Regions from separate parts of the Homo sapiens genome. Here regions 1 and 3 are each linked to region 2. The links are contacts of gene promoters, found by promoter capture Hi-C in blood cells and fetal thymus (Javierre and others, 2016). All regions are on one chromosome and are shown on one strand. Each heading gives the region's core, a stretch centred on a gene start or on the middle of the fragment in contact. The rest is flanking DNA. Distances are from core to core; before and after follow the strand shown.

Region 1 (3,275 bases), core at 503-3,002, 170 kb before region 2:
GGGAGGTTTAACAGAAGACATGAAGGAGGAAAGTGACCAGAGATAAGGGGTGTAGCATAAGCAAAGACCTAAAGGGGCCACGGGGGACACAGGCAGGTAGTGGTGAAGACAGGGTGACTAAAACAGTGTATCAAGAGCAGACTGGAGAGGAGACATGGAGGCCCAGAGATCATTCAGGGACCCTCTATCAATGGTGGGGAGAGGTAATAATAATGAAAACAAGGGCAATGACAGGAATCAAAAGGCAGCAGCTCTGAGAGCCACAACAGAGGAAGGGTCAACTGGTAGACCTGTGAGGGGAGACAGAAGCCAAAGGGAAGCTAATCACTGGTGAAATCTATTTTCTTATAGTAAGATTTTGACCAGTAGAAATGTCCACCGGACAGTTGGAATGGAAACCCCTAGAAGATATTTGAGCCTAACATCAATGTGGAGTCACATGCACGGAGGGAGTGGGGGGTAAAAAGGAAATCTGCCCAGCAGTGAAGACGTGGGAGTCGATGACACCATCGGGAGACAGATTACTGTATAGAAAAGAGGGAATGGGACAAAACCACAGCAAAGTCCTATGTTTAAGGCATGAGCAGAAGAAAAAGAGTCAGCACAGAAAAAAGAAATAGTAACCAGTTAGGAAGAAAACCAGGAAAGGCTTATGCCCTAGCAGCCAAGGGATGCAAGAATTTCAAGAAAGGGTTTGAAGTAACACTTACTGTTTCTTTATGAACATTACTCATCTACTTGCTCCTGGCAGACTGCAAGCTCCTTTAAAGCAGGAGCTGTTTCCTACCCATATCTGCATCCTGCACAATATCTAAAGCAGACTCCTACTATATGCCTTTGTTTGAAAAAAATGAACAACAATGTCAAACATGCAGAAAAGTCAAGGAAGGTGGGTGCTGAGAAAAGAGAAATGAACTGATGGCTAAGTAATCACTGGCAACCTCCAGGAAAGCGCATTTTCAATGACGGGTATGGGATCTGGAAAGTAAGAGCCAGGAGAGAAGGAACAAAGATGTAGGGAAGAGAAGGCACAACCATGAAAAAGGCACTGAAGCAGCAAGCAGGGGGTTCATCCTGCAAAGTCAGCCAGTCAGTCCCCCAAAGCACCTTCTAGGCACTGGGGACACATGGCCACCAGTCCCTGCCTGCAAGAAAACTGTGTTCTAGGAAAGAGACAGTGATGAAGTAGACCCACTGACAAATGCTATTCAGTTAAAATATGACAATATGAAGTGTGGTCAGGAAAGGCCTCTCTGAGAGGGTCATGTCTGAGTTTAGACCAGAATGACGAAGAGACAGTGATTGAAGCTCTGGGGCAAAACTGCTCCAGACACAGAACAGCAAATATAAAAGCACTGTGATGGAGCAAGCTTGGGTGTTTAAAGTACAGAAAAAAAAGATCACTGTGACTGATCACAATGAATGAGGGGGCAGGGGCCCTGGATTCTGGTTGAAATGGGAAGCACATCAACGAGAAAACGATAGAGCCTACTTTCTTTGTAGAAATTTCAGTCTGACTGCTGTGGGAAAGACAGATTATATGGGGCCAATTTGGAAGCAAGGACACCAGCATGGGGGAAGTTTCTGTAGACCAAGCAAAAGCTGATGAACACCGGCCTTGGTTGACAGTGGTGGTGACTCTCAGGAGTAGTCAGATTCAGGACTTAACTTGTGTATGAATGAAAAGACAAACTGACTTTTTGAATGTGGGGAATGAAGAAGAGAGCAATCAAGAATGATCTAGGCTTCTGGCTTGAGCATCTGGCATACAGGGTGATGCCACTTACTGAGACAGCAAAGTAATTAGAGGGAAGCAAATCTGTACCAAGGAAAGCAAGAGTTGTCTTCTGGTCATTTTAAATGTGAGGTCCCTATCAGACACCAAGTGGAAGTGCAGTGGAGTAGGCAGCTGGATGTTTAAGTCTGGAGCTCAGTGGGGAGGTCCAAGCTGGAGATACTCACTAGAGAGTCATCAGCACACACAGAGTATTTAAAGCCACAGGTTGCCTGGGGTCACTTGGGGAAAGAATACACATAGAGAGGAAAAAGAGCCAAAGATAGAGCCCTTACTTTTTTTCAGGTTAGACAGAGAAAAGGAGTAAAAATATTAAAAAGTTTTGAGGCAAAAGCTTGAGGTTTCTTTGGTCTCTATTGTCTCAGTAAAATAGTAGAAAGGAGTTCAGATGCTAAAGATCCTGACAAAGGTTTAGAATAAGCATCAGAAGAAATATAATAGGAAACCATCACAAAAGGAACACAAAGGAGAGCTGAGCTGCGGTAAAGATGCCAGGACTTTGCTGGAATCTCAGATGGGCAGACTTTGAGATTTTCCCCAGCAAGATAATAAAGTTCAGGCTTACAAACTACGATTGGTGTGAATTACTGAAATGTAATACAATGTGAGGTCTGGCAAAGAAATATGACAGAGGGTCCCAGGTTGTTAACAAGCTCACTGCTGAAATGCTGACCACCAGAGTCTACCCTGGATTCAGAGCCAAGTAAAGTGAGAATGGCCTGATGGACTGAAAAGGAAGAATGTTCAAAATCAGGGAATCACAATTAGGATGAAGAATAGGTTCAACAGATAGGAGGGAATCTGAAAGGAGTAAAGCAAGGAGGTTGTGGTCACAGAGGGAAATATCAGAATTGACAATCAAAAAGGTGAAAGAATACTAAGTGATGACAAGGCCCAGGTGTGGCCATTAAATCTCACAAAGTCTGTTATTTTTTCCAGGGGCTAAAATTATCATAGCAGGCACTCTCTGAGTCCTCGTTAGCCTGTGCCTGGCTACAGAAACACGAGGAAGGGGCAGTGTGACCAACAGGCCACAGGGGGTAAGAAGGGTGGTCCAGAGACTTAAATCTTGTTTCTAATTGACATTTACATGGCAGTTCTGGCTCTAATGTTATCTATCCTGCCATTTATATCTGGAAATCTTCTTTCAGCCTTCATACGCATGTTCTCCAAATCAAACAAGATTAGAAAGGAGGCGACAAAGACTTTGCATTTCATCAGTACTGACAGGCTCTTCAAAGTCAATGCAACTTTTCTTAGTTTTTGCTGCCAAGACAACCATTACCTCCTGCATCACACCTGTAATCCCAGCACTTTGGAAGGCTGAAGTGGGAAGATGGCTTGAAGCCAATAGTGCAAGACCAGCCTGGGCAACATAGATCTCGTCTCTATAAAAAAAAAAAAAATTTAATTAGCTGGGCATGGTGGCATGTGCCTATGGTCCTAGCTATTTGGGAGGCTGAGGCAGGAAGATGGCTTG
Region 2 (3,459 bases), core at 734-3,233:
TTAAATAAGATCATGTAAGCAAGCACTTGACCCCTAACTGGTAGCCATTATTTCCGCCGCAATGCTAAATGCGACCCAAATGTGAAAACACCAGCATGGTCCCCCGCGTAGGGCTCACACTCAAAACAGGACACTCGAGTTTTGTGCTGTTTGGAGTCCTGAGATCTGTGGTTTCCAGAGCCCATAATCAGAGGCCCTTTTCAGCGCCATGCTCAACCCCACTACATTTCTACAAGGTGCTCTCCACTCAAGGTTGCAGGACTAGGGTGTGGAAAGTTGTCACTTCAGGGGAGCTGACAGTGTCTGGGATTGCTGGAGTGGGCAATCTGACACTATCTGGGATTGCTGGTAGGCCCAGGTGCTGAAGATGGGGCTGGAGACAGAGAGGAAGAAGGTGGGGTCCCTGCTTCTGGTGATATTTTCTGTGTGAAGCACAGAAATGCTTATTTGCTCACTGAATGGCTGGCCTGTGCTCATGCTGGGGTTCCTGTCTGCCTCCCCAAGTCAAGCGCAGCTTCTTCTTTTCCCTTCTTGTCACTACTTCCCCAGCATCCCCCCGGGCTTTCAACTTCAATGGCATTTCGATTCCACTTTCTCTACCTTCTCTCCCTTGCCTAAGCCACCTTTCTCTATGCCTGACCCTTATTATCCTCATTCTTCCTATTTTAGAGGCACCCTTTGGTCTAGGCCAGTGGCGATTGACTTTGGCAGCTCATTAGAATCCCCCAGGGAGCTTTAGAACCTAATGATACCCAGGCCGCATGCAAAAAAAATCTGATTTAATTGGTCCTCACTCCACTTGGATTACAGCAGCAGCTTTCTAACTAGTCTCCCTAACCCCATCCTCAATATCCACTCCTGTCCTCCCAGTACAGGCAGAGATATACAAAGCCACACCTTGTGCATCTTCTACACATATCAGCAAAAATCACCTGCCACCTTGTATCACTCTGACAAGCAGATCCAAAATAAGGGCTGTTCATCCTTAAATATGTTGTTTCCAGCCCTTTTCTGCCATATAACTCCTCCTTCAGGGCAGCCTGGCTTGAAATGGGCTCTGTCGATGAAAGGCCCGCTGCTCTCCAGTCAGCCTCTTCTTCTCGCCCCACTCTTAGCTCGCCGATTCATCAGCAACCTGGAACAGTTGCCTTTTCCCTCGGCCTACCTGTGTCCCCCTCCCGATTAATGCCACCTTAATCCAGGTTCTTCACCCAACCCCACATTCCTGTAACCACCTGAAGACAGAGTTGTAGGCAGGTAGACTTGAGGGTCTATCAGATGTGTGGATCCCATTCCCGCATTGGACCACAGTCTCCACTGGGGCAGGAGACATGCATCTGGTTTCCTGTATAGCCCCCCTGGAGGCAGAGGTCAGCGCTGGGGAATATTAGAAATGCTATTTTCCAACTTGCCAAATAGCACCCACACTGAAATAAAGCAATTAAGGGAATGAACACTTACCTTGAATCTTCAAATCAAATATTTTTTCCAACACATTTTTTCCTTTTGTATCATATATTGATACCTTGTAGATATCCTGATCATCGGTCTTCAGATGCTTAATTTTCAGAGTTCCATTTTTAAATAGCTTATATGTATCTTTTTCCTTGAAAGTCTCTTTCTCTTTTCTGAATTGTGCAATCTTTTTCTTGTCTGAAGTTTTTTCCCATTTTATATCGTCAATATCATCACTCATTTGAAAACTAGGAATGTCCAAGTTGATGTCCTGACCCAAGGCACCCCAGGTTTCCAAGGCATTCGTAATCTCTTTGGAGACTGCACCTATAAAAAGCAAAAGAGTTACTGAGAGTCACTTTCAGGGAAAGCTGGGTTGGGACTTCTTTGACTCTTATGCTTACCTTTGGAAGAAACATTGAAAATCAGAAGGAAGCTGGCTACAAATTTACATGGAAAGCTCATCTTAGGGGTTGGTTTCCTCTTTTGATTCTGAGCTCTTCATGCAAAAGGAACTGAAGTGAGACTGGTGGAGTCCACACCCCGAGAGCTTAACCACGTGCCTCTCTTTACATCTTTTACAGTAACATAAAACATAATACACATACACAGAGAGCAAGAGCGCGCACAAGCCAGCCCTTCTGATGTGCTCCTTTGCCAAAGCAGATGTGTTTATGAGTGTGTGTTTTCTTGCTGCATTTTAATTCTCACACAAAAAAATTGGGAAGGATAGGTTTTCTCATCTCAGTGAAAGAGAAAAGGAACAGAGAGGCTAAGTAGATCACTAAGGATCACTCTTTTGTAAACAAGAAGCCAAATTCAACCACACAGCCTTTTATCCACTTAGGTATACTGTCCCTAACAAGACCACATAGAAATATAGGTAAATGTTCACAAGCCAATAGCAGAATGCAAACATTTATCCCATATGATTATATTGAAAAATGTAGACCCATAAAATGATGAGGAAATTGATTTTTTTGTTTCTCCAAAGATATTTTTCATGTTCTAAAATCGTTTTTGTGGTGAAAAGAAAGAAATTGAATATCAGCTGTAAATGCTTGCAATCCCCAAATCCTATGTTCGGCATACATTTTACAACTCTAGTGAAATTCACAGTTAGATAAATAAAAACTTATTCCAAAACAAAGAAGCATAGAGACTATGAAATATAATTAAACTACCAAAACAAAGGAGTCAAAAGCATTTAAAGTGATTAACATTATAGGTGGTTAAGAAAAAGGAGAGATTAGGAGAAAAAATAAATGAGAGGGAACAGGGAGAGAAAAAAAGAACAGAAATTTGTGACACAAGGAAACAGACAGTGATGCAGAGACGGGTGTGCCCTGAAAAGATGCCTAAAAAGAGAAATAACCATGACAGACTTCCAAAGCACATTTTCAGGGTTATAATTCTTTAGGTCACAGTGAGTAAAAATTGCAAAAGTGGTGCTCGTTTTCTTTTTCAACTTTAAGTACAAATATGGATATTATCTGTCAGAAAGTTGCCAAGGAAATGAAATTAAGTCAAAGCAGTTGTTTGCTGTTACTGGGTAAAAGAAAGCCAAATATTTACCTCATGGTTGTATGAGCGTCATCCACAATAATGAACTACAGTTGGATTAAAGTTTTAAATGCAAAAATACTATAATAATGCTAAAAGGAGGCCGGGGGTGGTGGATCACAGCTATAATCCCAGCACTCTGGGAGGTCGAGGCGGACCTCCTCACCTGAGGTCAGGAGTTCAAGACCAGCCTGGCCAACATGGTGAAACCCATCTCTACTAAAAATACAAAAATTAGCCAGGTGTGGTGATGTGCGCCTGTAATCCCAGCTACTCAGGAGGCTGAGGCAGGCAAATTGCTTGAATCTGGGAAGCGGAGGTTGCAGTGAGCCAGGATTGTGCCACTGCACTCCAGCCTGGGGAGCAGAGTGAGACTCTGTCTCAAAATAAATAACTAAATAAATAAAATAATAACAATAATGCTAAAAGGACAATATAGAA
Region 3 (3,050 bases), core at 136-2,635, 200 kb before region 2:
ACATGACCTAAGACCACCTATATCAACAGAGTGCTTGTCAGGTTGTCTGTCTATCTTTTTTGGTCACTTCTCGGTTACCTTATATTGGTCCCAAGTTGTATGTGGTATGGTATCCGTACGCATATACATGCACATTACATATCTAGAGACAACCATGGAGTGTCAGGCCAGGCTCACTGGCTTCTGGACAGAGTCCAGCGGGGAAGTCTTTGAGAAGGGTCTGCTGCTATGCTCATGCCCTACCCGCTCCTGACAAGTGTCCAAGCAGCTGTAATGGTCTGAGTCATAGGCACAGGGAAGGAGGAGAAGTCTTAAGAGGAAGAAAAAAAAAAGAATGCAATTGTTTTTCATACTACTCGCTCTTTCGTTAGGTTTACTCAGGGGCAAATATCTCTGAATATCCTAGGAGTTGAACATTACTGCTTTCTTAGCAATTCTAGCTTTCCTATGCACATATTTTAACAAAATCCATGTGTGGGTACTGGTTTATTTACCCGTTCAGCTAATATTTATTGAGTGCTTATTACATGCAAAGCAGCAGGGAAGGTGCAGGTTCTGTATCTGTTAGCATCAGTCAGGAAAAGCACACTGATGACTTTCACAATGGTAGTAGCACTCCAAAGGAAAACAAATGACGGGATCCTTTGGATAGTAACTGAGCCTTTTCCACAATTTAGTCTCTTTATTTCTTTTCACTCTCTGGAGAACACAGCTACCAACAAATCCCTTCCAGTTAAAGGAGCCCATTCCTCCTAGAGCTCCGCTCCTGTTGTCTGACAGTCCCTGCATCTCCCCCCGGGTATGCCGGGATCAATGCACACGTACTTCAAAGAAGCCTCAAATTGGAGTGCAAGCAGCACTTTCAATTAAAAAAAAAAAAGTCCTCGAGTTGGGATTCAGAAGCTGAAGGGGGAGCGGGTACGGAGAGCCAGTGCTGGGATTTGACAGCACCATACAATACACTAAGGATCAGAGCTGTGAGACAAATTCAGCTCCAGAGATGAAAAATCTTCTTTTGGTGCTGACAACATCTGTTTTATTTTGAAGGTTGCTAAGGAGAGTTCTAGCTGGGCCAACATTGTTCCAGTTCAGTACTTCATAGTGACTCTCTTGCATGGGGTTCAGACGGCAGGAATAAAAAGCTTGCCAGATAAACCCCGCTTCTTTTACTTTTCAGATATCAAAGGATTACTTTGCTAACAGGGCTGATGAACACCCTGCCTCGTCTCCATCGGAATCGGATTGTCCCTTCCGCTTACTCTCATTGCTCTTCTTCTCCCTGCCCCCTCTGTCTCCACTGGCCAACTCCCCATCTTTGCCAAATAAAGGCTTACTGGGGAGGAAAAAAAAAAGGAGAGCGAATATGCCACTAACCCAAGAGAAGATTTCCATGCAGAGATAAGGAATAGATAAGTATGAGTTGGAGGTCATAGCAGAAGAATCAGACAAAGGAGGAAATGGTTTCCTGGCCTTTAAAGATCTGTTTTGCCTGCTAATAATCAGAGCAATGCCAAATGCCTTTATCAGGGCTCAGGCACTCACGGACAGTAGAGAGATCAAAACAGGGGGGAATGTGATGAAAGGCCTGTCCCATCTCTGTAATAATGGAGGTGGGGAGCGAAGCTTTCCACACCCAGCTTGACCCCATCCCTCCTTTGATTACTTGCAATTACAAGACATAACAAAAATTAGGAAAAGTTAGTGTACATTTTGCCCAGAGGGCAAACATTTAGGGAAAAAAGAGGTAGGGGAAAAGGAGCTTAGTATAAAGTAAGAGGACATGCCAAAGATCTCCACATATACGGCAGGTTGTTATAAAATGGGTGGCAAGGTGCTCAACACTTGAGAGCTACTCTGCTCCTCCACTGGGGAAATTACACCTGGGGTGAGAGCGTCCACAAAACAAGCCTATAGAAGCAGGCGGGCCCTTTAGTTGTAAGTGGTATATACAGATATATTGTGGGATTCCAGGGCGTGACGTGAAAAAAAAAATGCTTTCTAATAACTGAAGGAATTATCTTTCTGCATTGGGCTTTGGAAAAGCACCAGCTCCTGCCAGGGAGCACCTAGGAGTCTAAGAGAAACAAAGGAAGAATGGCAGTGTTCTCCCTCCAACAAAGATTCATTTCAAAGAGCCATTCAGCAGTGCCCTGACCCTGCAAATGTCGACAACAAAAGGAAACTATATACTCTCAAATGAGGGTATTGAGACAACTGAGGCCACATTATCTAAACATTTCCCTTGTCTGCCAGATTCTATTTCATCCCCAGCTTGGGATCTATCTGGGCCAAAGTATGCATGAACCAATAGAAATAATGTCGAAGTCATGCAAAGCGCAGAGCCTCCTGAGATAACTCCTTCAGATAACTCCGAGGAGGGGTTAAGCTGAAGAGGTTAAGAGTCATTCTCCAAACCACTCACCTAGCCAGGTCACACCCACACCAGCTGGGGAAGACACGGCCTCTGCCACTTTGTGCCAGCTCCTGTTGTGTCCGGGTGCCCACAGGGACACGTGGCAGTAATAGTAGCCAGAGTTTTCTTTGCTAACATCCCGAACCAGTAAATGGTAGGAGCGTGCATCCACATGACTCAAAGCAACATGAGGCGAGCTGTGCACCAGGGAATCACGGTCAAGCCGCGCCAACACGCGGGAGCCAGGTAGGGTGCTGTCAGGCATCCTGCTGAAGGACCACGTCACCTCGGGCCGGACGTCATCGGCTCGGTCTGTTGTGATGTTACAGGTCAGGTCCAGTTCCTTTCCTTCAGCCACAGACACATTCTTGGGCACAGCTGCTCGCAGAACTTGAAAATTAAAAACAAATACATCTAGGTAATCTGATTATGTTTGCCCCTTCTATTCTCCACCCTCTTTAAAGCATCTCCTTTTAAGTTCTTATTTACAGCATTAAAGTTAGAAGGCTTTGTACAGTTGTAAGTGCTTGAGAAATATTTAATGAATAAATTAACAGAACATACCACATTTCTTCTTATTTTATAAAAACAACAATAGCCGCAAACATTTACATATATCTGCTATATATGCCAGGCA

The links. Contacts are between HindIII fragments. The CHiCAGO score rates a contact against its expected background, and 5 or more counts as called.
Region 1: a contact is called between a fragment that was not itself captured here and the fragment with the promoter of CD2 in region 2, in 6 of 17 cell types (naive CD4 T cells, total CD4 T cells, M0 macrophages and 3 more). The highest score is 8.1, in naive CD4 T cells.
Region 3: a fragment that was not itself captured here is called in contact with the fragment with the promoter of CD2 in region 2 in 1 of 17 cell types (total CD4 T cells); the score reaches 5.4 in total CD4 T cells.

Annotation. Positions count from the first base shown.
Region 1 is chr1:116,927,632-116,930,906 of GRCh38, reverse strand. The region is part of intron 1 of PTGFRN (prostaglandin F2 receptor inhibitor); the gene reads right to left. Among named protein-coding and RNA genes, the nearest start is that of PTGFRN, 19 kb to the right of the region's middle. The HindIII fragment of the contact is 759 bases long and covers 1,373-2,131 here.
Region 2 is chr1:116,752,954-116,756,412 of GRCh38, reverse strand. CD2 (CD2 molecule) reads right to left here and starts at 1,983. Exons shown (of 5, transcript NM_001767.5): 1 at 1,860-1,983; 2 at 1,462-1,782. The coding sequence starts at 1,920. RefSeq lists promoters at 1,866-2,308, 1,866-3,459, a cis regulatory region at 3,367-3,396 and a silencer at 3,230-3,459. The HindIII fragment of the contact is 7,255 bases long and covers 1-3,459 here.
Region 3 is chr1:116,948,945-116,951,994 of GRCh38, reverse strand. It overlaps PTGFRN (prostaglandin F2 receptor inhibitor), which reads right to left. Exons shown (of 9, transcript NM_020440.4): 4 at 2,423-2,803. Among named protein-coding and RNA genes, the nearest start is that of PTGFRN, 41 kb to the right of the region's middle. The HindIII fragment of the contact is 481 bases long and covers 1,145-1,625 here.